7 separate regions of the Homo sapiens genome follow, and all the other regions are linked to region 2. Evidence: promoter capture Hi-C in 16 types of primary human blood cells and fetal thymus (Javierre and others, 2016). All regions are on one chromosome and are shown on one strand. Each heading gives the region's core, a stretch centred on a gene start or on the middle of the fragment in contact. The rest is flanking DNA. Distances are from core to core; before and after follow the strand shown.

The links. The method cuts DNA at HindIII sites, captures the fragments that hold promoters and counts their contacts. A CHiCAGO score of 5 or more calls a contact.
Region 1: a contact is called between a fragment that was not itself captured here and the fragment with the promoter of SMC2 in region 2, in 1 of 17 cell types (total B cells). The highest score is 5.2, in total B cells.
Region 3: a contact is called between a fragment that was not itself captured here and the fragment with the promoter of SMC2 in region 2, in 3 of 17 cell types (total B cells, non-activated CD4 T cells and activated CD4 T cells). The highest score is 6.7, in total B cells.
Region 4: a fragment that was not itself captured here is called in contact with the fragment with the promoter of SMC2 in region 2 in 1 of 17 cell types (total B cells); the score reaches 5.2 in total B cells.
Region 5: a fragment that was not itself captured here is called in contact with the fragment with the promoter of SMC2 in region 2 in 1 of 17 cell types (non-activated CD4 T cells); the score reaches 5.1 in non-activated CD4 T cells.
Region 6: a contact is called between a fragment that was not itself captured here and the fragment with the promoter of SMC2 in region 2, in 2 of 17 cell types (fetal thymus and non-activated CD4 T cells). The highest score is 10.0, in fetal thymus.
Region 7: a contact is called between a fragment that was not itself captured here and the fragment with the promoter of SMC2 in region 2, in 5 of 17 cell types (non-activated CD4 T cells, total CD4 T cells, fetal thymus and 2 more). The highest score is 7.7, in non-activated CD4 T cells.

The regions. Positions count from the first base shown.
Region 1 is chr9:105,390,862-105,394,884 of GRCh38, reverse strand. SLC44A1 (solute carrier family 44 member 1) reads right to left here. Exons shown (of 16, transcript NM_080546.5): 16 at 1-4,023. Among named protein-coding and RNA genes, the nearest start is that of FSD1L, 55 kb to the left of the region's middle. The HindIII fragment of the contact is 966 bases long and covers 1,015-1,980 here.
Region 2 is chr9:104,092,570-104,096,341 of GRCh38, reverse strand. SMC2 (structural maintenance of chromosomes 2) reads right to left here and starts at 2,033. Exons shown (of 25, transcript NM_006444.3): 1 at 1,865-2,033; 2 at 790-1,018; 3 at 45-194. The coding sequence starts at 957. RefSeq lists enhancers at 1,413-2,080, 2,299-2,618, 2,081-2,750. The HindIII fragment of the contact is 5,032 bases long and covers 1-2,466 here.
Region 3 is chr9:105,686,927-105,690,571 of GRCh38, reverse strand. No RefSeq gene overlaps it. Among named protein-coding and RNA genes, the nearest start is that of TMEM38B, 5.8 kb to the left of the region's middle. The HindIII fragment of the contact is 8,166 bases long and covers 1-3,645 here.
Region 4 is chr9:105,497,659-105,501,373 of GRCh38, reverse strand. The region is part of intron 7 of FSD1L (fibronectin type III and SPRY domain containing 1 like); the gene reads right to left. Among named protein-coding and RNA genes, the nearest start is that of FSD1L, 51 kb to the right of the region's middle. RefSeq lists enhancers at 658-707, 718-837. The HindIII fragment of the contact is 2,745 bases long and covers 382-3,126 here.
Region 5 is chr9:105,706,642-105,710,528 of GRCh38, reverse strand. The region is part of intron 2 of TMEM38B (transmembrane protein 38B); the gene reads right to left. LOC107987107 (a long non-coding RNA gene) reads left to right here. Exons shown (of 4, transcript XR_001746868.2): 2 at 2,337-2,484; 3 at 3,128-3,202. It also overlaps the pseudogene LOC100421293. Among named protein-coding and RNA genes, the nearest start is that of TMEM38B, 14 kb to the right of the region's middle. The HindIII fragment of the contact is 7,200 bases long and covers 1-3,887 here.
Region 6 is chr9:105,444,375-105,448,054 of GRCh38, reverse strand. FSD1L (fibronectin type III and SPRY domain containing 1 like) reads right to left here and starts at 21. Exons shown (of 14, transcript NM_001145313.3): 1 at 1-21. RefSeq lists a silencer at 1-140. The HindIII fragment of the contact is 2,128 bases long and covers 1,096-3,223 here.
Region 7 is chr9:105,553,606-105,557,703 of GRCh38, reverse strand. It overlaps FKTN-AS1 (FKTN antisense RNA 1), which reads left to right. Exons shown (of 3, transcript NR_184141.1): 2 at 529-590; 3 at 3,361-3,669. Among named protein-coding and RNA genes, the nearest start is that of FKTN, 2.5 kb to the left of the region's middle. The HindIII fragment of the contact is 2,062 bases long and covers 659-2,720 here.

The DNA.
Region 1 (4,023 bases), core at 248-2,747, 1.3 Mb before region 2:
GCAGAGGAATCTGAAGCTGCTCTAGTGGGTGACTGGAAAACACTAAAACAGAACACACCTCCGTGATTTATGCAGGAAGAAAAAACATCTTTTGCATTTCTACCTTCAGCATCTGCTCCTCCAACTTTCTACCAAATTTATTTTTTGCCAACTATGGACTACCCTTGAGTTTGCTAATTTATCATCATCTTCAACTGTTGTTGGAACTGGACATGTTGACAAATATATTTTAAGACAGTAGTATACTGATAACACTAAGCCACATAATGTCATAATGTCATAGCTGAGCTACAATAAAAAGAATCAAGTGTTTTGGTAGATGGATTAATTACAAGGATTCCCTATTTATTTCTTCTTGGATATTTTTTTTTTTTTGGCTCACTGCAAATAATCTGGTACCTTGCCCCCAAATAACCGCCAGGACACACACACACACACACAAACACACACACACACACACACACATACACACCCTCATACCTCCAAGGAAAGAAAATCTTACTGTCATGAAGATTCAGTGTTGATCATCTTGTTATTCCTTCAGATTAGTGTGGTTTCTATTCCCTAACCTGCTACTAAATTACATAAAGTCTTTAAGTTATAAAAATGATTCCAGGTCAGAAGGTGGTAAGCATCATCTCAAAAGTATCTCTAGTGGAGGCCTAATCACTTCCTCATTTCAAAACACATTATCAGAACAACTTTAGAGCAGCCTTTTGACTTGGGTTCATTAGCCCCTGAGGGGGTACAGGGGTGGAAGCTGGCCGTCTGAGGGCCCTGAAATTCTATGAGCATTTTGAGTGTTCACAGACATGTGATGTGCATTTGAAGGAAAGATAGTCCATAGCTTTCTTAAGCTCAAAGAGACCCATTGTCTCTTCAAAATAACTTGTTTTTGAATATCAAATATTAAATTCAGGTCTTAGCAAATAAAAGTGAGAAATTTCTGAGACATTTGTAAATTACAATGTTTCCATGTTCAACTAGATCTTCACTAGACCATTAATAAAAGCTTTATTATTCTGAGCTCCGTGTCCTGGAGAAAATCATTTAAGTTGTAAAACTGAGCATCAAAACTGAAGAATAGCCTAATAGGTCTCGAACAATCTCACATGTTTTTCACAAATTTACTAACGAATTTCCTTAGAACACATTCTGTCCATATAATTTACAAAGTGGCAATTGTTCATGCAATATTGAAACTGAATCATCATTTGTCTTTACATGTACAAAATCAAGATGGGAAGAAAGGGCACTACAGTATTTCTATAGAAAAGAAAGGTTTTCCACAGAAATCAGTAAGTTTAAAAACTGCATTAAAGTTTTCTATAAGAAAGATATTTTCAAAGATTTAAATCTTGGATTAAAATTATCCTTTTAAAATTAAAACATGGAGTATAAGAATTTGGCTCAAATGTATGAAATCTGAATGGAAAAAGTGTGCTATTCTAAATTCATAACTGTACACGACGTGTAATTTTTGTTTTGTTTTTTAAGTTTGCTAGCTTTAGATTTTCTCTTGGCATATTCAAGGGTCTTGCTTTTTAAAAATTTGGACTATGTGCCACTAAGTTAACAAAGATGAGTTAATTCCAAGAAGCTACTGTGTATGAATAGTGCCTACTTTTCAAAAGGGCTAACATGCATTCTTAGCACACAAAGATACATGAATATGCATTTAAAGCAAAAGGCAGCCTACGCTGTGAATACAGAATACACAAATATCTGCGTTACGCTTTTACTTATGAACCCACATTTTTTCAATATACATTCACAGACCACTTCTTACCAGTTCTAGGCAAGCCATTATAGTGCACTCGTATGTGTCAGATGGAATGTATGAAAAGAATACAGAAATTAACTGTGGCAGGTGCACTGATAAGCCTCCAGACTCTGAGAGTTTTATTTGTTGTTGTTGTTTTTTTTTTAAAGTAGCAGTAGAAAAGCAGTAAAGAACTTACTTATTGAAAAGCGAAAGCTTAAAGACCTTTCTGGAGGAAACTTCTCAGAGGCCATGTTAAGGCTATTGGAAAGTCCAATTTAAATGACAAGGTTACTGACCAAAAATCAAATAAAATATTCAAGTCACCATTACTGGCAGTTCTGGTTTTGGAACTGATCCCAGAATTCTACCTTGCAGGCTAGGAGATCTCTTAAAATGGCTGTTAGTAGCTAGTAATAGTGCATGGTGGAAATAGTTGAAGCCTCAGGGGCAGTGATGTGGCCTCACACATATGTGGTGCCTGCAGTTCCTGTAGCTGTTTTGAAGAGGGAGGGAGAGGTATTAACTCTGCTCTAAAGCAGTTTGGGTCCAGAATAAAGGGGTCAGTGCCTCATACCCCCTACTAGGGTGAAATCCTAAAACTGCCCAGGGAAGGCAAGGAAGCCCTTGGCAGATACCAAGATCAGTGGTATTGGAAATAACTTACAATCAGCAGCCTAATGCCCTCACGGAAAAAAAAAAAAAAAAAAAAAAAAAAAGAGAGAGAGAGAGAGAGCATCTCTACAAAAGAAAAACATTTCTAGCATAACTTTAAAATAAACTCAGTAAGTGCCTCCTCCTTAACCATTATAGAAAAAGTTTGGGTACCAACATACAGTTAAGCTACTTAAGTTGTAGTGACTTAGGACTTAATTATCTTATAGGATAAAATAAAAACTTTAATCCTAAACATTAGCCATTGCATTAAATGCTTTAAAGGAACAACTGGCTTTGAGCTCTGCTCATCCATGCAAGGATTATACAATCTCAGTGCTCTAGCTAAATTGCTAATGTTTTATTACTAATGCACTGGTAAGCCTCTCATAGAAGATGGGTCTCTTGGATTTACACTGAAATATAACTTTTCTCTTCCATATTATGGAAGACCTTATTCTTCAGGCAGGAGCTTAGAAAGTCTAAATTATGCACCAGAGCCTTAATTATCTGATGGCAAAAACCACGATACTCTGGTCACTACTACAATTGACAATAGAGGACCCCAATTAAAACTCTAGAAATATGAGTCCTGAATACAGTTTTGAAGATTCACCACAGAAGAAGACAAAAACCACCACATAGAATCAATGATTTATGAAATTATTCGGGTATCCACATTTCACAGAGAAATTTCTGTTCTTCATCTATTCTTCTCACTTGGGCAGAAGATGGAAGCAGTGAGCGAATAGCAATAAGGCAGCCCATAGCTAGCTGAAGAATGACTTGAAATGAATGAAAAGAGGCAGCAGGAATATCCAAACATAACCTCAACACATTTAAATATTGCTTAAAATCCTCTGTGAGGCTTTATCAAATTAATCAAGGAATAAAGCTCATGAAAGAGTGATATTCCACATATTAAATATCTCTCTGTGTGTGCCTGTGTAATGCATATCTGCATATTTCTACACGGCACATGAATTTACTTAAGGAAAACAGCCTGGCAATTAATTTGCAACTCAAATGACATGGTTACACATAGATTATAATTTCTAAACACAATGTTAGTAAAACAAAATTTATTTGTAAAACAGGACCTGTTATATAAAATGGCACACAATCAAGTTATACAAAAATACAAAATTTCTTTCTGATTACAGTTCTAGTTGCAAATGATAATTAGAAAGCATTCCTGGTAGCTTCCAAATAGCTGAGATTGCGAGCATATGGAACAGGGAGCAGCAACAGTCCATGATGCAGGGATGTCCAAGTGAGTAGAACCTAATTTCCAAGTTCAGGACTTCCATCAGGTCACTTTGGAGGGACACCTCTTAAAATTGCTAGCTCCTGGAATGTCTTCTGTTTTGATACCCATCTTCTAGACTTTTGCCAATTCTAAATTTAGTTCCCAATGTTTGTGAAAGTCCAAAATCTGTGCGGCTATGAAACAGATGGTATTCTGAATTTTCTCACATGATTTGCTCTCTCATCTATTTGGACAATTGTTAGTTATATAATTATATTCATTTCAAATGAATAAAAGAGAACAGCGATACTGTTTGGTGATACTAGATATTAGATGTTAACTTCTGGAGAATTATTCT
Region 2 (3,772 bases), core at 784-3,283:
ACATAAAAGGTCTTAAGATACCCAAAGGTTTAATTGCCACTCACCTGCCTTGTTACTGTGATTTCATCATGAACCTCAAATCCTAAAGGACTTTGCTTTTTGTCAGAATTATCAAAAGTGATTGACACAGAGGCTTTGGTAATACCAGCCTGCCCATTTTTGTAAACTAAATCTTGTAAATTAGAAGCCCGAACCTAAAATAAAATATGAAAAGTGTAACAATTACAAAACTCCCTACCGTACAAAGCAGCACTAAAAATGGGTCCCTTGCTGTTGGAAAACCCACCAACGTAGTGTCCATTAAGTAGACAAGGTTAGGCAGCTGCATCCTCTGGCAAGAAAAACAAGGAAAATAGGCAACAACCTGCAATGGACACTTTTCTCTACAGAACCTTTTCAACCCTGAATTGAATTGTTTCCTATTCATTTTTTAATAAAAAGTTACTTTGCAAGATATAAGGAAATACTGTCCCAAAGATTTTCACTAGTCATTCAATCCATTAATAGGATTTGAAAAGGCATCATTACACAGGGTTGAAAATACTCTGGAATGAGACTGCTTTACAGTCAGAATGCCTGAGTTTTGAGGCACTGTTACTTCTAAACATCTCTAAGTTTCTATTTTCTCATCTAAAGGAGTAATATTACTTTCCTTAAAAGGTTGCAGTGAGGTGTAATTTACAAAAAGTATAAAAACACAAATGAAGAGAATATCGGGACGTCTCCAAAGTTCAGTGAGGATTCTCCTGCCAACTTAAATTCAAATAAATCAGAAAGTTTACACTTTACCTGAGACAGGTTGGAGATGCCCAGCAAAAAGCAGATGGAGTCCAATATGTTGGATTTCCCACTACCATTTAAGCCAGTGATAGCATTGAAGAGGGGGTCAAAACCATTGACTTCGGTCCTCTGAGCATAGGACTTGAATCCCTCTAGAATAATTGACTTAATATGCATTTTCGATACTGTCTTGGGTCAGCAAACCTCTGACAGGAATCAAACAGGCCACAAACCAGTTCTGTACGAAACAGAAATACCACCACCTAAGTGGAATGTAAACCTGGAATCATAATGAACACGAGGCAAAAACAGCAACGATAGGGTGATAGAAATAAAACAGCCACTTGACAAACTATCTTGTCTGATGTAAAGACATCGTTCATCTACTCAAAAATATACCAGAGTTAGCCACTATCTGGAAATTAAACCATTCAACTGGGAAGTCTTAACTATTTCTTCTACCCGTTTTTCCAGGCTTGCCTTCTACTTTTATCATACTCTACCTAAACAAAGACTATGGATTATTACATATCCCATTATCTTTGCCTATAATGTGCTTTTCTCTGATACTGACATAGCTTACTCTCTACTGCACTCACGTCTTTGCTCAAATGTCACCTTACTGGAGTCCTCCCTGACCTCCCTATGTCACCTCTCCACAATCCTTCACTCGGCTTTCTTTTTCCTTCATGGTACTTAAAGCTGATATTAGACGGTCATTACTTGTCTGTAAGTTCCCGCAGTGTCTTCACCTACGTCCGTCATTGCATCCCCGAATTGTGCTTGACTCCGGGAGGAGGGGAAGTCATTTAAGTATTTACTAGAGATGAGATGTATCTCATATTCTCCAACTTCTTGCTTTTACTCAGGCTTTTACCTCGCTTCTCCAGGCCTGTCTACACCTCTTCGCCCTACTCCAAGGTCGAACAGAAGCTAGCCTTTATTTCTAAGGATCACCTAAGGTCCCTCTGCCACTGGTCCCCCTCCCTACAGCCCCCGCGCCCCGCGCCCCGCCTCCCGCCTCCCGCCTCCCGCCAGGAAGTCTGGCCCGGCCCAACCGGCCGTGCTCACGCACACGCCTCACCGCTGCCTCAGGCCAGGGGCTTGACGCACCCCAAAAGCTCCTCCGGGTCACAAAGGCAGGGAACAGAACAACTCTCTAGCCGGGGCCGCTACAAAGCGAACTTCACCATAGCGGCTACAACACCTGCCACACCGCTCTCAACACCCGCGCCGGAACTATTTATTCCTTTGAATTTCGGCGCGAGCAAAGGACCCCACCTCCATTGCTTATTTCCTGTGCTGGTGCCTAGGAGCTGCCTGTCTTTAGGGTTCAATTTTTCCCCTACACTCGAAGGATTAAAGCCGCAGGGCAATAGAATGAGAGTCTCGATAATGGTAGCTCCGGGGACTCCCCGGCAGGGGCCTGGGCACTACAGGAGCAGATAGTGTATGTTCACACCGGCGTCCGGCACTCTATGGTCAGCCCCACACCTCGGCCCCGGGTCCTCGCGCTTCGCCAGCCCCGCCCCGCCTCGGTCCCTCTAGTTCGCGTTAGGCACACTGCAGACTCCGCCTTCTCCAGTCTGCGGTGCTGGCTGTGGCTTACTTTTCTCTCCTCAAAGCGACAGTTAGGAAGTGGAGAGGCATTCTATGAGTGTTCTCGTCGGTTCTGTTTTGGAAGCTTCAGAATCTTCTCGGGTTGGCTCAGATTGCTGCAAAATAAAAGCTGTACTTCTTGGGGCCAGAGAGGCACCGTCCTTCGGGGGACTCTGGCCCGCGTCCTGGCTCCGCCCCGTACTGGCCTCGGACCTCGGGGAGCGTTTTTATCTGAAGTTTCCACGTCGGAAAGGGATCGTAGTCTACCGAGAGCTGTTCCGAGCCCAGAGGAGAAATTGTGTGGTGCTAAATAGCTATTCATCTCCCTTATACCGGAAAGCGTTGTAATGATAAGCCGACCTAACCTGTTGGGGATTTTTTCTGGAAACCTTTTAAGACAGTTCATGTTATTGAGTTCTGAATATTAGGCTATATTGCAAGGGGCTTTTTAAAATCCACGTAGCAACCCTATGAAATCAGAAATTGCCCTCGTTTTACAAATGAGTTAAATGAGACCAAGTAAAAGGTTAAACAGCTTGTCTAGTAAGCTGGGATTTGTTCCCAGGCGGTCTAGCTCCAGATTGCATGCTTTTAAATACTAGGCTTCATGCATAGAATCTAGTATTATTAGCCGATCCTATTATTAGTATGTATTGTTCTTTAGGAAGAAAAAACGTGTCAGGATTGCTCACGTTTCCAAGCACGTTGATACTTAAGAGTTAGGAAGGGCTTAACTCCGAATGGGTATGGTGTTACCCTAAGTGAGGTTCAAAAAGATGGTGTGGGCAACAATGCTATTTTGGAATGGCTTGATCCTTTTGGGCTTCCATAACAAAATATCCTAGACTGGGTAGTTTATGAACCACAGAAGTTTATTCTTCACATTTCTGAAGGCTGGAATGTCACAGAATAAGGTGTGTCTAGGGAGGGGTGCTTTCTCTTTAGTGGATAGCACCTTCTGGCTCTGTCCTCGCATGGTGGAGAGGCAGAGGCCCTCGCTTGGGCCTATTTTATAAGGACCTTAATCCCATTCCTCACTTCCCAAGATGCCACTTGCTAAAACCGTCAGTTCGGGAGTTAGGATTTCAAAATGTGCATTTTGAGGGACACATTTAGACCATAGCGTAGGTCATGTTTTTAAAGTTGCTTTCTTGGCCCTGGAATGGCAATGCAGTCATCTGAATTGGTCTTAACCTACCAGGAATGGGCTTATATTTTGAAAATATTTCTCGATAAGGGAGTAAAATAAGTTGTATGGGTTTTTTGTTTAAGAAAGGATTCCTTTGTTTACTCTGGTATGCTTATCCACTTCTGTGATGTCAACCATGGGTAGTGACCTAACATTAATTTAATTCAACAGATATCTTTGTCTGCCTTGATTCCTGCATCCCCT
Region 3 (3,645 bases), core at 1,060-3,559, 1.6 Mb before region 2:
CCTTAGTATCTTGGTCTGGCATTTTCATTCTAAAGTTGTTTTGATAAGCACTTGATAGCCACACTGTATCAAATGATAATGTATTAATATGTGACATTTAAGACAAAGTATATGTAATTTGAATTCAACCTTTTTTAATATTCAGGATTATCAAGGAGAATTAGCTAGAGAGCACCAATTGCCCTCAAAATACCCACTGAATTCAATCAGTACAATTAGATGCCAGTGCATGAGATTTAAGTGCAACCAATTCAAGTATACACTCAACTCTTTAGACTCAGCATGTATCTAATAATAGTGCCTTTGATATTGTGTCTTGGAAAACCTGACATGGCTCACTTATTTATTGCACTGGAAACTAAAATCCTTTTCTATAATCGTCATTCATACCACTAATATAAACTAGTAAACTAAAAATGTTCTCCATGTATAACAAGTACAAACTTACCAGATTAAAAACCTGATGTTATTATGGGAATACCTCTAACTTTCTTCAGCGTAAGGACTGCTAAAACTGTAGTCACCCACCAATGCCATAGCTGTCAGTTGTCTGTGGTCATCAGCACTTAAGTTCACCATATTGCTCTTCAACATCTCTGTTAAAGAGTAACAGGTACCATTAAATCACAGAGTAAATGAATTTTGGAAGTTGAATGGACCCTTTAAAAAAAATAGTAACATGGAGTCCAAGTAATAGAAAACCGTTCTGTGCAGCTTAAGCAAAATGAGCAATTTGCTGAAAGTCTACTAGGGAATCTCATGAAAGCCAGGAAAAGTTGAGCAGTCAAGACCCAAGGAAAGCAAGTAGAGCATTTCTGGGGCCAGCAGCAACAGGTGGGTGTGCACTTCTCTCAGTCACTGATGATACTCAGTGCCAACATCTCTTAGCCTCTGGGTCCCCCTATTGAATATTGCCAGGAGAAAGACCCTGTCCTGGCCTGGGACAGCTGTACACTCCTGGTTAATCAGTTCTGATGGGAGGCCGGGTCACGTGGTTCAGATCTGATGCATCCCTACATATCAGAGGCAATTTCCTGAAAAAGGAAGGAGCGGCTGGGTGCAGTGGTTCACACCTGTACTCCCAGGACTTTGAGAGGCCAAGGCAGGAGGATCGCTTGAGCCCAGGAGTTTGAGACCACCCTGAGCAACATAGTGAGACACTGTCTCAAAAAAAATAAAGAGAAAGGAGGGAGCTAGGCAGACATCCCAAGAGATGTCTAGTATAATCATTTTCTTTAACCTGTTTATTTTATTTTATTTATTTTTTAATTTATTTATTTTTCTTTTTTTGAGGGTGAGTCTTGCTCTGTTGCCCAGGCTGAAGTGCAGTGGCGCGATCTCAGCTCACTGTAACCTCTGCCTCCCAGGTTCAAGCGATTCCATCCTCCTGAGCAGCTGGGATTACAGGCACCTGCCATCACGCCCGGCTAATTTTTGTATTTTTAGTAGAGATGGGGTTTCACCATGTTGTCCAGGCTGGTCTCCAACTCCTGACCTCAAGTGATCTGCCTGCCTCAGCCTCCCAAAGCACTAGGATTACAGGCGTGAGCCACAGCGCTCGGCCAACCCATTTATTTTAAAGTAGGAAACTAAGTGCTAGAGAGGTCACCATGGGCAGTGACAGACCAAAATTTGTTACTATTCTGTTACAATCAGTCTTCCCTATGTACTCCTACTAGGTTTTCTCCTGTCTAACAGAACCCAAATACTTCTTTTGAAGTTTTCCTTTACAGAGAGATTCAGCATCCCTACAGCAATGAAAAGGCCACCCACCAGATAAGGGCCAGGAAGACCAATTAGTAATCATTAGTAACCCCATCCCATTCTTTGACATTATCTCAGCAGATCCCATTGCTTTGTTGTCATTTAAGATTTCTTTTTCTTTTTCTTTTTCTTTTTTTTAAGACAGAGTATCGCTCTATTGCCCTGGCTGGAGTACAGTGGTAGGATCTTGGCTCACTGCAACCTCCACCTCCCAGGTTCAAGTGATTCTCTTGCCTCAGCCTCCCAAATAGCTGGTATTATAGGTGCCTGCTGCCATTCCCAGCTAACTTAAGATATTTTTTAAATAAAATAAAAAGTCCAGTCCAGTTAAAACATCCATCTTACATGCAATATAGAACTTCTTTCCTCCCATTTGCTCAGGACTGCCTGTCTCAGAGACTTTGATGGGGCAATGGGCATGGTGGAGTCCTCCAGCCTTTCTTCATCTTCTGCTCCTTTCATCTGCTATGTCTTCTAGGGTTAGGGCAGTGAGGAGGGAAATTAGAGAAAAGGAACAGAAGACTTTCTAGTTGGCAAATGTTGGTCATAGTTTTTGTTTTTTGGTTTCTTTGTCTTGGTTTGCTTTTGGCTATTGATATTCTTCTCTATGGCAGGCTGTCAATGCAGACTCATTCATGGGGTTTATTTGTGGGTTCCCCAATGATGCCATGGAGCTCACACAGCAAGATCTCCTAACCTCTACAGTTAAGGCAGACACCACTGGTTGAATAACCCAGCACACATATTCAACTCTGTGTATCCGGTTAAAACATTAGATATAGTTTGTTCAGCCTCTCAGCAAGGTGTGAACTTGTGTTAGGATACTGGCAAATAAAACTTCAGGGGACCTAGGTTGACATGCTTCTGAAAACAAAGTAAGGAAAAACAAAGTTGAAGGACTGACACTGTCCAGCCTCAAGATTTACTATAAAGCTACGGTGATAATCAAGACGTACGATATTGGTGAAAAAATAGAAAAATAGATCAATGAAAATATGTGGCTTCTCTGATAAAAGGGACTATGCCCTTGACATTGGCCCTTCTCCTTGTCTTTCTGCCTAGAGCTAGGGCAGCCATGTTGTGACCATGAGAGAAAATAGCAGATCATTGAAGTTATCAACTGTCCTTCTCAGACTTCCTGTTACGTGAAAAAATAATTTCTTATCTGCTTAAATAGAGTCTGAATTGGCTTGGGGGAAGTTAGCACCTCTTTCTTCACAGGGAGAGGAGTAGGAAGGCAAAGCCTCTAGCCCTCTGAATTCCCTTCCATGAATTTCCCTTCAAATTCTTGACCTCTTGGATTGTTGAAAGTGAAGTTCACTAGGCCAGCTGTTATATTTTATTAAGTCCTGCATAGACAGGGCTTAATTGTCTTTTCAGAATGTAGAAGTAGCATCTTTTGTCTTAGGGGATCTAATGGAATTTCACGATAAATTAGCATCTTGTTATACTAGATGACAGGCAAAGGAAGGAGATTAGAAAATGGGGTGGATGACGCCAGGTGTGGTAGTTGATACTTACAATCCCAGCACTTTGGGAGGCCAAGGTGGGAGGATTTCTTGAGGCTAGAAGTTTGAGACCAGCCTGGGCAACATAGTGAGACCCCATCTCTACAAAATGTTTAAAAAATAGCCAGGAGTGGTGAGGTGCACCTGGTCCCAGCTACTCGGGAGGCTTAGGTGGAAGGATCACTTGAGCCCAGGAGTTTGAGGCTACAGTAAGATATGATCGTACCACAGCACACCAGCCTGGGCAGCAGAGCAAGACCCTGTCACAAAAAAGAATAAGATGGATGGGTGAGGTTTGAAAGAAAATGCACATGGCTGTGGCTGGGAACCCACAAAGTGTCGGTTATCTGTATAGATGGGTTGATCAAACCGA
Region 4 (3,715 bases), core at 505-3,004, 1.4 Mb before region 2:
GAAAGCCAGAGCAAGAGGACACAATCTGAAAAAAACTTCAAAAATTTCAAATAGAAAAGAAGAGGACTCATATACTATCATAGACTGCTATAACTATCATATAACTACCATACTCTGGAGGGATCCTATGATAGCAAAAAAAAAAATCCCGCATAAAACAATTTTATTGTGTTATATTGCTGAGCTTTTATAAATAAGGCAGTGCTTCTCACCTTGAATGTGTGCAAAAATAAGCCTAAGTTACTTCAAGTCCAACACTAAGACTCTTGAATCAGAATCTGCAGTTGATTTGCATGCACTTTAAAGTTTGAGAAGCACTGGTCAATATCTTCTGATGAATGGATTCCCTTTACAACACTGGCTTCAAGTTATTGTCAAGCTTCTTACCGAATTATTTTAGTGATGGGAAGAGTTACTATTTCCTAAAATTGATCTTGTCATAGTTAGTCAGTTGTGGCTATTAGAAAAGCCTTTCTGATATTATTAAGCTGAGTTTTCTCCATAAAACTACTCCATTTGGAAATGAAAGGGAAATAAACTATCTCAAATGCTTGAGATTATAATCCCTTGGCAAAATTTTTATTTAAATTTTAATTGAAATTGTACTTACTTAAGGAATACAGCAGAATGTCTGAGAGTCCAGCTCCAAGGAGACCCAGTCATAGGAGTGTCCCCACACATTTGTGAGTTTTACCTCCAGGAGCTTACCAGGTTCTCACCATGAATAACTAACAGAGAAAAATCCCCTTATGCTTCCACAGCAGGGGGAGGAGAAAAGGAAGTATTTTGAAATACATCAGAGTTTCTGTTCCCTTAAGAGAAACTATTTAATCATAGTCTAATCTGTTGGGGTTTTAACAGAGACTAAGTGACCTGGGGAAAGGGAAATATCCAACTCCAATGAGCTACTCCATGTGGGCAAAGGGAAATACCCAGACCAACCCCAGCCCACTCCAGCCATCCTGTTCCACCGAAAAATCCAGGAATAAGGAGTGGGGAAAACTGAGAAGTCCCTTGCAAAGTTCACGGTCCAGAGGCACAGGCTCACCAAAAGACTGAGACCTAATTATGGTGCTACAGAATGCTGCCCCTCCCACACACCTTACTACCACATTAATAAAGGCCAGTTTACATCAGTTTCTTTAACCCAATACATGTCTGGTCATCAAGAAAAAATTACAAGACTCAGATATGGCAGAAATGCTGGAATTATCAGACCAATAATTAAAAACAGCTATAATATTCTGAGGGCTCTCATGGAGAAAGCAGAGAGCATAAAATGGAGAAAGTAGACAGCATAAAAGAACAGATGGGCAATACAAGTGGAGCGCTAGAAATTCTAAGAAAAAACCGCAAAGAAAGGCTAAAGATAAAAAGCACTGTACCATAAATTAAGAATAATTTAATGGACTTAATAGCTGACTGGAAAGAATCTTTTGAGTTTGAAGATCTCTCAATAGAAACCTGCAAGATGAAACAGCAAAGACAAAAAAGATTGGAAGAAACCCCACAGAACAGAATATCCAAAATTTACTGTGGAAGTACGAAAGGAGTAAATATGTATAATGGAAATTACAGAAGAAGAAGACAGAAAGGAACAGAAGATATATTTGAAACAATAATGACTGAGAAAATCCCAAACTAATATCAGACACCAAACTACAGATCTAGGATGCTCAGGGAACATCAACCAAAATAAATGCTCCCTGCCATACACACATAAACAAAAACTGTATCTAGGCATATATTCAGACCACAGAAAATCAAAGACAAGGAAAACACTTGAAAGAAGCCAGGTGGGGGCGGAGGAGGGGACCTTACCTATAGAGGAGCAATTCTGTATACCTTGAAATTATCCTTCAGTAGTGAAGGAGAAATAAAAACTCTCTCAGACAAATAAAAATTGAGGAAATCTGTTGCCAATAGACATGCTATGAAGAAATGTTTTTAAAAAGTTCTTTAAAGACAAAGAAACAAAGAGCAATGGAGAAGGATAAGTGAAGGTAAAATAAAAACTTATTTTTCTTATTCTTGACTGATCTAACCAGTAACAGTTAATTCAAAACAATAAGGGCAACTATTTATTTGAATGTGTGTGGTGTATCTGTGCTTACACATACTGCTGCATAAGTGAAATAAATGACAACAATGATACAAGTGATGGGAGAGAGGCAGAAAATCACTAAGTACATGGTTGAACTCAACAACTCCATCAATCAACTGCATGTAATTGATATCTACAGACTACTTCAACCAACAATGGCAGAATATACATCCTTCTCAAGCTCCTATAGAACATTTGCCAAGACAAAGACTACATTCTGGGCTGTAAAACACACATTAACAAATTCAAAAGCATAGAAATCATGCAATGATTAAATTAGAAATCACTTAACAGAAAAAGATATATAGCTGCAAAGTCCCAAAATACTTTGAGATTAAACAACCCACTTCTAGCATGGGCGCGGTGGCTCATGCCTGTAATCTTTGCACTTTGGGAGGGGGGCGGATCACTTGAGATGAGGAGTTCAAGACCAGCTTGGCCAACATGGCGAAACCCCATCTCTACTAAAAATATAAAAACCACACTTCTAAACAACACATAGTCAAAGAATAAATCTCAAGAGAAATTTTAAAATATTTTGAACTAAATGAAAATGAAAACACAACTTATCAAAATTTGTTGAATGCAACGAAAATAGTGCTTAGAGGGAAATTATAACACTGAATGCACATATGGTCATGAGCCATAAGCCATATAACAACATTTTGGTCAATGACAGACCACATATACAAAAGTGGTCCCATAAAATTACAATACCATATTTTGACTGTATTTTTTTCTAAGTTTAGATATGTTTAGATACACAAATTATTATCATTGTGTTACAACTGCTTACAGTATTCAGTACAGTAACATGCTGTACAGGTTTGTAGCCTAGGAACAATCTGCTATATAATATAGCCTAGATGTGTAGGAGACTATACCATCTTGGTTTGTGTAAATACACTCTATGATGTTTGCACAATGACAAAATTGCCAAACATCACATTTCTTAGAATGTATCCCCACCACTGACAAATGATTATATTAGAAAAGAAGATCTAAAACAAGTAATTTAAGCTTTCGCCTTGGTAAACTAAAAACAATAATAATAATAATAATAATAATAATAATAATAAAGCCAAAGCAAGCAGAAAAGAAATAATGAAAATTAGAACAAAAATCAGGTTGGGTGTGGTAGTCACACCTGTAGTCCCAGTGCTTTAGAAGGCTGAGGTGGGAAGATCACTTGAGGCCAGGGGTTTGAGACCAGTCTAGGCAACACAGTAAGACCCCATCTCTACAAAAAAAGATTTAAATTAGCTGGGCATGGTAGCACATGCCTGTAGTCCTAACTACTGAGAAGGCTGTGGCAGGAAGATCCCTTGAGCCCAGGAGTTCAAGGCTGCAGTGAGCTATGATTATATAACTACATTCCAGACTGGGCAACTGAGCAAGACTCTATCTCTAAAAACAAACAAACAAAAAACAAGAACAGAAATCAATGAAACTGAAAAGAGGGAAATCAATGGAAAAAAATCCTGAAAGCAAAACCTGGTTCTTTGACAGATCAATGGAATCAATAAATAACTAGTATCAAATAACTAGTATCAAAAATGAAAGAGGGGGCATCAACAAAGATCCCATGGACATTAAAAAGCTAATCAAGGA
Region 5 (3,887 bases), core at 509-3,008, 1.6 Mb before region 2:
AGTTTGCCCAGGGGGATCGGAAGACACCAAATCAGATGAAAGCCAAGGAAGGGAGGAATATGTACAGTTCTTCACGCTATGATGATTATGACAGATACAGACGTCCTAGAAGCCGAAGTTATGAAAGAAGGAGATCATGAAGTCAGTCTTTTCATAACAACTATAGAAGATCATATAATCCTAGAAATAGACTGGCTGGAAGACCACAGAGTAGCAGAAGCCATTCCGACAATGACAGACCAAACTGTAGCTGGAATATCCAGTACAGTTGTGCTTACTAGACTTCAAGAAAGATCTGAAAGTGGAAAAAGAACCAAAGAAGGGCAGTTCAAGTGACAAAGGGGTGTGTGGAAGGTGCTGCAGTATGAATACTGTACAAATATTTTGACTCTGGTCTGAAAAGATAAAAGAATGTTATCGAAAACTACATGGAATAATTGAAGTCCCCTCAAGTTTGAAAGTAAGCATTTTAGGACAAATAAAAGGACATTCAACTTTGTACTTGCGGAAACTAATCCCTAAATATGAATAAGCGTATATTGATTCATGGGTAATAGGTCCATAATAAATTATTGGAAACTAGGATGTCTGAATATCAAGGAAGACAGCCGTAGTCTCTTACAGTGCCTCTGTTGGTCTGCCTCAAACTGATTTAGGTGGGAAAAGTTATGGTCCAATATAAAAGTTCCATTTTCGCCATTATTGGCAAATCTTGCCTTTGTTTATTTTGGTGTCAGTGTTTTCTGCTTAATCATTGGCTTTGTTGGCATCTGCGTTTATTTACTTGTACACCACATGCAGTTTACATCTTCCTTAACTACTCTCCTTCCCAGGTAAATTCCAATTATATTCGACATCCAGCTAAGAGGGCCCATCTCTTCTCACCTCTATCCTAGTCAGTATGTTCAGCAAATATTTATTGAGTGCTGACACTGTGGGCAAAACATTGTACTGGTTAATTGAGGAGAAAAGTAGATAATTCCCTTATTCAGTAAATGTCTACTGGGTACAATCTAGTGAATGATTACAGTATGGCCTAATTGTCTTGTTTGAGATGTATTATTCGTTACAATATTTTACACCATTCATATCTTAATATAATTATAGAACCCAATATACTATCAAAGATAAGTAATTGTGTGGTTATATGCCATTTAAAATTATCCCGTGTTTGTCTGATCCCATTATTACAAATAATTAAAAAATGATTTGTTTTAATCTGTAATAAACTGATTTATTGTGCAGTGACTGTAATATACTGGAGTTATATTAAATTGTTTACTCAGCCTCACCAAACACATACTAGGAAATAACCCCCAAAATAAGTATTTAACTTTGCATTAGATATAAACGAGACTGGGTGCTATAATTAGATTATTTTAAGGTAGACAGCTATTATCCCAACTGATGTAGTATGTTCTGTAATTGAGAAAATGTTCACCAAATTTTACTTTTTAGTGATTTACATGTACATTTTATAGGGGACATGTTCTATGTATAGTGAATAAATAACTTTGACAGTAAAAAAAAAAAAAATAGCCAACGTGGGAAACATAGTGAGACCTCATCTCAACAAATATAAAAATTTTAAACATTAGCCAGGGGCCAGGCATGATGGCTCACTCTCTGATGGGCTATTATTCCAGTATAGTTAGAGCAACATAAAAAAAAAAATCAACAGATAACATGTTGGATAGCAATAATTCTAAGAAGAAAAATAAAGAAGGATGATGTGATAGTCATGGGAGAGGAGGTGCTACTTTAGTCAGGGAAGGCCTCTCTGATAAAACAAAATATGAGACTTCTGAGGAAAAAAAGATTACAAAGAGAAGAAAGAAAGTACAAAGGCATTGAGGTAGAAGAATACCTTACGTTGGAACATTCAAGAAATAGCAAAGCTCATGTGACTAGAGCAAACTGAGCAAGAATAGAGTTGTAAGACGTTACATAAAAGAAAGTGAAAGCGAGTATTTTGCAGGGTTTTACAGGCCATGGTAAAAGTTTGGGATATTGTTCTTAATAAGATAAGAAATTACTGAGCACATGAGTGACATGTTCTAACTTAAGTTGTCCCTCAGTATCTGTAGGGGACTGGTTTCAGGATTCTCCTTCAAAATCTGTGAATGTGAGAGCCCCTATATAAAATAGCAGAGGATTTGTACATAACCTACACACATCCTCCACTACACTTTAAATCATCTCTAGATTATTTATAATACCTAATACAGTGTAAATACTATACAAATAGTTGTTACACATTATTGTTATTTGCATTATTTTTATTGTTGCATTGTTATTTTTTATTGGATTTTTTTCCAAATATTTTTGATCTGCAGCTGGTTGAATTCAAGCATGCAAAACCCATGGGTATAGAAGGCCAACTGTAATAATTTTGTCTGCTCCATGAAGAATAACGAATAGACTCAAAGGGATAATCAAAGAAGCAGCAAGACCACTTAGGAAGCTCCTGCAATCATCCAGGAGGTTAGTATTATAGGAACAGAAGTAGAAATAACAGAAAGTATCAAATTCTGGATATCTTCCTTTTTGTATAGTTTCAGCATCTATACACATCAAAAAATTCTTCCAAAATGCTAATAACTTTTAAAAATATTGTTATAGAAATAAAAGTCTTTGGGAAAGTTTTTTAAAACACATAGCAACTGGAAGACTACACTTTAAGAGATGGTTAAACAAATCTGTGAGAGATAGTGGCTACAAAGTGTGAAGACTCTAAAGTTAAAAACTTCTTGTTTTGATTCTAGCTCAACCACTTACTAGACAAGAAAGTTATAGCAGCATTTCCCTATGCCTCAATTTTATCATTTGTCAAATGGAAATAATAATAGCTACCTTATAGTACTCCTCTGATTAAATATAACAATGAATATAAAGAACTTAACTGACATATCGTAACAACTCAACATTGCCATAGGTTCCCAGGATTACTTTTTCCCATTGCTACTATTATTTGTAATATCCCTTTTAGAACTGGTTACATATTCATTTTAAAATTATCACAATAAAAATGAACTGTAAGTGTTCCTGTTATATATTTAATGATATGGTTCTTAACAGAAAACAGTTTCTGCTTTATACATTAAAAAAACTATAATTTTTATTATAGATTATTTTAAACTTGATGGATCAATCCTCTTAAGGATAACGAATTTGGATTTGCAAGAATTCAAGGCAATTCCGGGTAACATTTTTTTCTTCACTTCAAAATTATAAAATTTAAAGATCTCATAAAATCAACAGAGTATGAGAAGAATAATTAAATATGAGCCATAATTATTTGGACTTTTTGGTTAGTTTCAGTTGGTCACATACATGATTTTATCATGTTGTATATCTGCGTGTATCAGTTAGGTTCACAAGATAAACTCTAGGGCCAAATACTTAATGCCCTTTCATATTGGAAATGCTTCTATTAAAGATACATAAGACAGGCTGGGCATGGTGGCTCACGCCTGTAATCTCAGCACTTTGGGAGGCTGAGACGGGCAGATCACTTGACATCAGAAGTTTGAGAACAGCCTGGCCAACATTGTGAAACCCCGTCTCTACTAAATATACAGAAAATTAGCCAGACGTGGTGGCGCATGCCTGTAATCTCAGCCACTTGGGAGGCTGAGACAGGAGAATCGCTTGAACCCAGGAGGTGGAGGTTGCAGTGAGCCTGTAATAAGGGTTAAAAAGAAAAAAAAAAAAGTTTTCCTCTGCTTAGCAGCTCAATTCAAGAACAGTTATAACACTGTCCAAAAAGCCAAGGACAGAGGAATGGGCTCCAGACACCCCCGCCCCCTCCAGAGCAAGGTTAAGGAAAAAAAAAAGAGAGAGAAAGACAAATTCCTTTATTGTTACTCCTTTCCCTTGCCTCTTAA
Region 6 (3,680 bases), core at 910-3,409, 1.4 Mb before region 2:
CCGCGGTTGCCAGGGTGAAAGGGCGGCCCGCAGAAGGGAGGGGCTGAGGAGCGCACCGCGCCTGCGCGCAGCGGCTGACTGCTCCCGGGAAGTAGCCGTGGAGGGTGGGGAGCGCCGCCCGTCTGTCTACCGCTAGTGCCTCTGCAGGCTGCACTCCCTTCCCCCATCCTTTTTCCTCCAGCGATAGCGGTCTCTCCGGCCCTGAAATAGGCCACTGGGCATCCAGCAGCCGGCCGGTGCGGAGGGCCCGGGAAGGAAAGAGTATCTGGTGCTGGAGACGGATTAGCCCACCCTCCACCCAGCACGCATCTGAAGCCCCTCCCCACACTATCCTTCGAGGGGCAGCCAGGCTTGAGCGGACCCAGCGGTCCAAAGGGAGGAAAAGGGCTGGGGTGGGGATGTAGCGAAAACGTGGGAAAAGACCTTTAGGGGATGTGGTGGAAACGTGGGAGGAGGGATATAGGGATGAGAGTGGCGGAAACGTGGGTGTGGGATTAATATGAGCTTTGGGGCCTGGCACAGTTTTTCCCGGGGACCCACCCATCCTCCCCGGCACCTCGCTACCTGTATGATTTTGAGCAAGTCAGTCTGCCTGAGCTTGTTTCATCTGTAAAATGAGAGAAATAATGCGGACTTTGCAGAGGATTGTGAGGATTAAATAACGTATGGTACATAATTAGTAGTGAATAAATTATAGTCATTCTCTTTTTTTTTTTTTTTTTTTTTTTTTGGAGATGGAGTCTCGGTCTGTCACCGAGGCTGGAGTGCAGTGGTGCCATCTTGGCTCACTGCAACCTCTGCCTCCCGGGTTCCAGGAATTCTCGTGCCTCAGCCTCATGAGTAGCTGGGATTACAGGCGCCCCCACCACACCTGGCTAATTTTTTGTACTTTTAGCGGAGACTGGTTCTAGCCATGTTGCTTAGGATGGTCTCGAACTCCTAAGCTCAGGCAGTCCGCCCACCTCAGCCTCCCAAATTGCTAGGATTACAGGTGTGGGTTACAGGGCATGTGCCAGGCCCATTATAGTCATTCTTAGTGGGGAGTTAGAACCTGCTCGGTGTGGCCTGAGGCATCAATGAAGATTTTAGAAAGCTTGGAATTTAGTAGGCTTGAGAAAGTTCTTCCTCAAGCAGACAGGCCTCATCTTCCATTTGGATGACTCTGGAGAGGCTCACAAAAGTTCAATTAGACAGTCATTTATGATGAATGAATAAAAGGGAAATACATATTGAGTACCTATTCTGTACCAGTTCTACAAACAAAATTCAGTAGTGGGCAAGGCCCTGTTTCTCTCACAGAGCTTACAATCTAGTATAGAAGACCAACCAAAAAAAAAAAAAAAGTTAACGTGCTAGACGGTTATAGGTGCTAAAATTAAAACTTAGGCCAGGCATGGTGGCTCACACCTGTAATCCCAACACTTTGGGAGGCCCAATGAGTGGATCACTTGAGTCCAGGAGTTCGAGACCAGCCTGGGCAACATGGCAAAACCCCATCTCTACAGAAATTAAAAAAAAAAAAATTAGCCAGACGTGGTGCTGCAAGCCTGTAGCCAGAGCCAATCAGGAGGCTGAAGCGGGAGGATCACTTGAGTCCTGGAGGCAGAGGTTGCAGTGAGCCTAGATCACACCACTGCACTCCAGCCTGGGCAACAGGGTGAGACCCCAGCTCCTAAATAAATAAATAAGGCAAATGGATTCAGAGAATTGGGAGGGTTTAATTTTTCATAGAAATGTCAGGGAAGATCTCTCTTGGAAATGACCTGAGTATAAAGTGAGAAGAGGAATTGTACAAGGATCTAGGGAAGAACATTCTAGAAAGTAGGAACAACAAATACAAAGGCCTTGTGGAGAGAAGGAGCTCTGTGTTTGAGAAACAGCATTTATTCTACAATGTTGTCATTACATCTCCACATGGATCCCCCTGACTGTACTGTGATTTTTTTTTTGAGGGCTGAATTTCTTTTACCCCATATCTGTATCCCCAGCTCAGAGTCTGCCACATAGTATGCACTTAATACATCCTTTTTTAACTGGACAGAGATGTACAAGAAATGAAATGAAAGTTACAAAAGGGAAAAGAAGAGCTTGGCTAAGGCTGGGTGGGTAGTGCTTAGAGAGCCAGGGTCCAGGGTGGGCCTATGTGTGCCAGCTGAAAGGAGTAGTGGCATGCAGTCCTTCAAAGAGATGCCCATCTCTTAGTACCAAGGGAAGAGAGCCTCTTATTCAACCTTTCCCAACTCCGTGAGGAATAACAAGTGCAGCCAGGCGCCAAGCCATTAGCCCACTGCTGCAGCCACAAAGGTCGTTCCTTCACACTGTGTACTGCAGTTGAGTCAGTTTCCCATGAGGGAGAAATAGCCTGGCGATTGGAGAACATCTAAAGTCTACTCACCAGACTGCGTGCTTCCTGGCTCTGCCCCTGCTTGCCACTATGGGACCCACGACTAAGCAGAGGAGACAGGGCTTGGCGATGTCCCCACTTCTCTTGCTGCAAGGACTTAACCTCATTACTGTCTGAGGGCAATTCCTAGGCACTTTATGACTGACAGGCACCACCAGAGAAAGAAGAAAGAGGCTTTTGGGGACAGTGAGTTGCAGCTGAAATGTGATCACCAGACTCTGTCACAGTCCACACCCCAGGAGCTCACTCCTGGCTCCTTGCCTCCAGCTTCCCAAGTTCTTTCCCTGTAGCCCAGCCAGCAGACTGCAGCTTTTGACAACATCTCTACCCCATTTGGCTTCTGCCCTCACCTGATCTCTGTCTCTGGCCAGTCTGGCTCTCCTGCCCAGCTCATCCTGGGCCTTTTGCTTCCCCTCGTTCCCATCTGGGAAACAGCTAGTTCCTTCTGACTGTGACTTCTGTCTTCCCCAGTTTGTACAAGTTCTCCCATCACAGCCACGTACCGAGCTGGGCTCTAAGTCTCCCACCCAATCCCTCCCAGTACCTCTGGCCTATAGGCAAGTCCTTTGCCTTTTCTGTACTTATTTTTTCACAGCCAAATCCATTTAGAAATTTTCAAAAGTAGTTTTACAAATAAAATAAAGCATTTTTCTTAAATGTGATCCCTGGACCAGCTGAATCCACATCACCTCATAACTTCTATGAAGTACAAATTGTCCAGCCTTATCCCTGGATCTACTGAATCAGGAACTCTTGGAGTAGAATCCAAAAATCTGTGTTTTAGCATTTCCTCTAGGTGATTCTGATGAACTCTAAGCTTGAGAGCCATTGAACTGCGAGAAAGCAAATTGTTTACAAAAAAAGGGGTCGGGGAGAGGACTACAGAGGCATAAAAATATCAGTTCAAAACCTAGGTTTCTGGTTCTTAAAAAGCCTATCTAGTCATAGACATTTATCCTCTTGAGGTCTCTGGGCCTCCAGGAACCTCTTTCTGAGGAAACCTCAAGTTAGGATAGCCTCATAGAAAGGCTGATGTAGAGAGTCTGGCAAAACTGTCTCTCCCAGAACCAGGTTCTGTATCCTCTCTGAGTGGTGCCAGGTATTGCCTGCAGCCCTGGGCTACCTCGTATATTCTGAAATTCCCCCATCTCTTAGGAGAGAAATTTCCTTCCTTTCAGTGTTGCCAGCAGTCTATCCCTTTGGGAGTCAGTATAGGGCCATCAGCATGGAGTCAGCAGTGTGAATTTAAATCCAGATGCTGCTGCTTACCAGCAAC
Region 7 (4,098 bases), core at 440-2,939, 1.5 Mb before region 2:
AGCTAGGGGATAGAGTGGAAAATAGCAGCTGCGTTCACTATTCCTCATGAAGTTGAGGTGCCTTTATGACATTCAAGATTTAGCGACCTGTTGCCCTCCAGTTTAAGGCTGGATACAATTTTGTACCTGATTAACTTTTTTCTTTTCTTTTTTTGTAGAGACGTTGGGGGCTAGCAGGGCGGGGTGTGGCGGGGGTGGGGGGGAGGGCGTCCTCACCATCTTGCCCAGGCTGGTCTCGAACTCTTGGCCTCAAGCGATCCTCTCACTTTGGTTCTTTTAACGGTGTAATCCAAAAGGTGGTTGTTAAGGCTCAGATATTAATCTTCTTATAAATTTTTGAAAACCATAATTCACTAAACCAGTTACTGTAATTATAATTTATTTCTACAAAACGGAAAATACTCCCATCATATATTTGTTTTCTAAGCTTTGTTTTTAATTCTATCAGTACAGAAAGAAAAGGAAGAAAAAATCTTCCTCACTTCCTACAGGTTATGACATTTACCAACTTTTTGTTTTTCCTTCCAGAAATTTCCTATGCACATACAAGCTTACTGTTGAAGTCCTCTCATCCAATGCACTCAGAACGGGTAGGTACTCAGTAGGTTAATAAAAAAAAGTGGAAGGTTACACCAAGAGGAAGTAAGTTATCAAAGCTTAATGGCATCATTAACACAGGTGCTAACGTGATGGGACATGGGAAAACTTGAGCATCACATACTTGCTATTGATTGAAACACATCAAATATAAAAATTCTTGAGTTTATAATGACTCCTTAAAAAATAAAATTCAGTCGTGATTGAAGATTGCCAAGTTGAAGATTAAATATTCTAAAACTTGATAAGGGAAAACATCAAGCATTTATCCTGCCTTTCTTGTATGAATTGAATTTTAGTGTAACCAAAGTACTTATAAGAGTTCCAGCTAATAAATGGAGGATGATAAAACAATCACGATTTTGTAACTCCTAATAAAATAATCGAAAGGGCAACATCAATAGATGATAAAATTAAGGTGAAAGGTTGATGGGGAACTTTATAATAGACTGGCATCACCTAAACCCACTGATCTTAATCTCACTAAATTTGGGACAAGCATATATTATGTACTTCCTGATGTGATAGAAAGTACACAGCCACACCTGTGAAGGATTCTTGCCTAAAAATTGAACCTGCATTTACTCAAACTCTAGATCTAATACAGGATATAGAGAAGCAACTAAATTCAGAAAACGGGACATTCTACCAGACAAATTCCTCAGTTTTTTTCATAAATGGCATTTAAAAGCAGAGGGAACTATTGTAAAATCAAATATTTAAGAGATGTAACGGAGTACAATGTGTGGACCCTGTCTAGATCTTGATTTGAACAAGATAACTGTAAAAAGATACTTCTGAGACAACTGAAATTTTAGTATGGACTGATCCATTAGATAATAGTACAGAATTACTGTTAATTTTGCTAAGAATGTTAACAGAATGTGGCTGTTTTTAAAAGCCATCATGGATGCATATAGCATACTTACAGGTGACATTTTAAAACAAAATAGATAGCACAAACATGGCAAAATGTTAACAATTGATTAGGTGATGAGCACAAAGCACTGGCTTTCTACTTTTCTGTATATTTGGAAATTATAATTAAAAGTAACAGGAAAAGGGAAAAATTATCAGGTTCTTAGAAATAAATACTTTCCAAGTGTATAACAAATCTAGTTCTGAATAAACCTTCTCAAAAAGGCAGTTTCAGTAGAGGGTTACAATGGCCAATCTTCTGTTTTGAACTAAGTTCATTTTAAGCATGGACCAGCTGATTAGAGTATCTCACTGTTTTTCTTACAAAACCATAGACATAATGCATCATCCATCATTTGTAGTTTCTGTTTCTGTAAAATGGACCAGGAACTTAAAGATACAAGTGAAGGAATATAAATTTGGAGTCCTGGAATTTATTTTTAAAAATCTTCCCCTATCACTCACAATTACTTTGGCCACAACTAACTTTGCAACTTTTTAAACTCTTCATCTCTAATGGTTCTCGTACTTTTCTTATAAGTACCTTTTCATACTCATTTCATATTTATTTTGGTTTATATATTTATATAATTGGTTTACATACTTACATGACTACAACAGTGACTACCACCTACATAAGCAGGTTTGGGAACAAACATAACTGAAGGTAAATATACAACTAAACTGGTGGCAGTGTTACTTATCAAGCATACTGAAAGGTCAAATGTGAGCCCTCAGCTCATGGCAAACGTCAAGTCAGTATGCTTTAATCTGGATAGCAAATACAGCTGAAAGAGTGGGTACAAGGATGCATAAAAACAGCCTCTCTTACAAGTAAATATTCATGTTCTATAAACCACTCAGCTGTGCACACATGTAAGGATCCTGGCCGACTCCTAACATTTGTAGGGTCTGGGCCAAGAATACAAATGAAAGCCAACCCTGACATATTTTCAGTGTCTAAATAGCTGAGCGTTAACCAACAAATAAAATGTTATACTCTTCTACTTTAACATGTATTCTCAAGGAACAGAAATCTAGGTTCAAATATGCGATTCGCAGATTCTTCAGAAGTGTACTAGAAAGTGATACTAGGTTGGCCTGCCCTTCCCTGATCCCCTGGGTCTCTTTTTACTTCTAGCTTAAGCCTGCCACAGGGGCCTATCATGCATGCATGTGGACAACTCAGTCTGCACATCCAAGCTTCATCTGTACTTCCCACAAACTGCCAGCCATAGGGGTATATACATCTGTAGTAGTCTTTTTTCAGGATGGATTTGGACAAAAGGCCTGCACATATCCTGGAAGCAAGCTTCAGGCTGATGAGGCAAGGAATCCTGGGGTTCTGGCTGATAACATAGTATAGAATTCTGTGGGTAAAGGAACATGGATTCCAAGTAGGCATAGTCCCTTGGCTCCTCAATTTTTCATCCCATGAAGAGAGGCACAGCAAGAGTGTGGGGATCCGGTTAGTTAGCTTACCTTAGGTAGGTAACAAGAGAAGGGTCCTGGAGAGCCCCTGGCTCATGAGTCAGTGCCTTATCCCCAGATAATATAAAAAGCAGCCTGGGAAAAAAGCTGCAGGCACCAATAAGGGAACTAGCACAGGGTGTTGTGCCTGGAGACATGCCCATGACTGCACAGATGGAAAAACCTACGGCCCATTTGGATAAAAACTTGCACAAACCTCCAGCTCACTCAGATAAGGGAACAAGGCCTGGCATAGAAATGCCTTGGTCCTTTGTATTGTCAGCAGGTTCCCAGGAAAAGTTTATTCCCCTTTTGTAGGCATGGGCACAGTGGGCTCTGGTAAGTTCCTATGGGCGCTCTACTTTCCTTTGTTAGGACTGTAAGTCCAGCTGCTGTGTATCATCACCTCAGCCCGATTGGTCCTCGGCCACACTTCACTTCAGCTTCTGATAGGTCCTGGGCCAAGCTAAGCAGCATCTATGAATCATTTCACCTCCTGACTGGTCCCGGGCCAAGCCGAGTCACGCATTCGCCAAGACAGCCCCCAGACTAAGCACATTCCTTCCCCTTCCGTCCATAAAAACCTGGACCCCAGCCTCATGATGGGCACTCCCGTTCGGGACCCCCTCTCTGCTGGCAGAGAGCTTTCTTCTTTCACCTTATTAAACTTTCACTCTAACCTCACCTTTGTGTCCGTGCTCCATAATCGTCTTGGAGGTGGGACAAGAACTCCAGGTGTTATCTCAGACAACGAAAGACTGTTTCAATAATGTAGTATATAAGTGGACAAGAACTCCAGGTGTTATCTCAGACAACGAAAGACTGTTTCAATAATATAGTATATAAGTGGGTAATGAAACATGCATTCCAAGTAGGCATAATCCCTTGGCTCCTCAATTTTTCATCCCATGAAGAGAAGCACAGCAAGACTGTGTGGTGATCAGGTCAGGGTCCCCTCTTACCCAAGTATACATGCATGCACACACCCGTTGTATCGTACTGTATATATTGCTGGATGACTTTTTTGTTTAATATCATGAATACACTTCCATTAACAGCATATCCTTTAACAGCTGTGTAGGATCACATGGAAATACCAAAATCTAACCATCT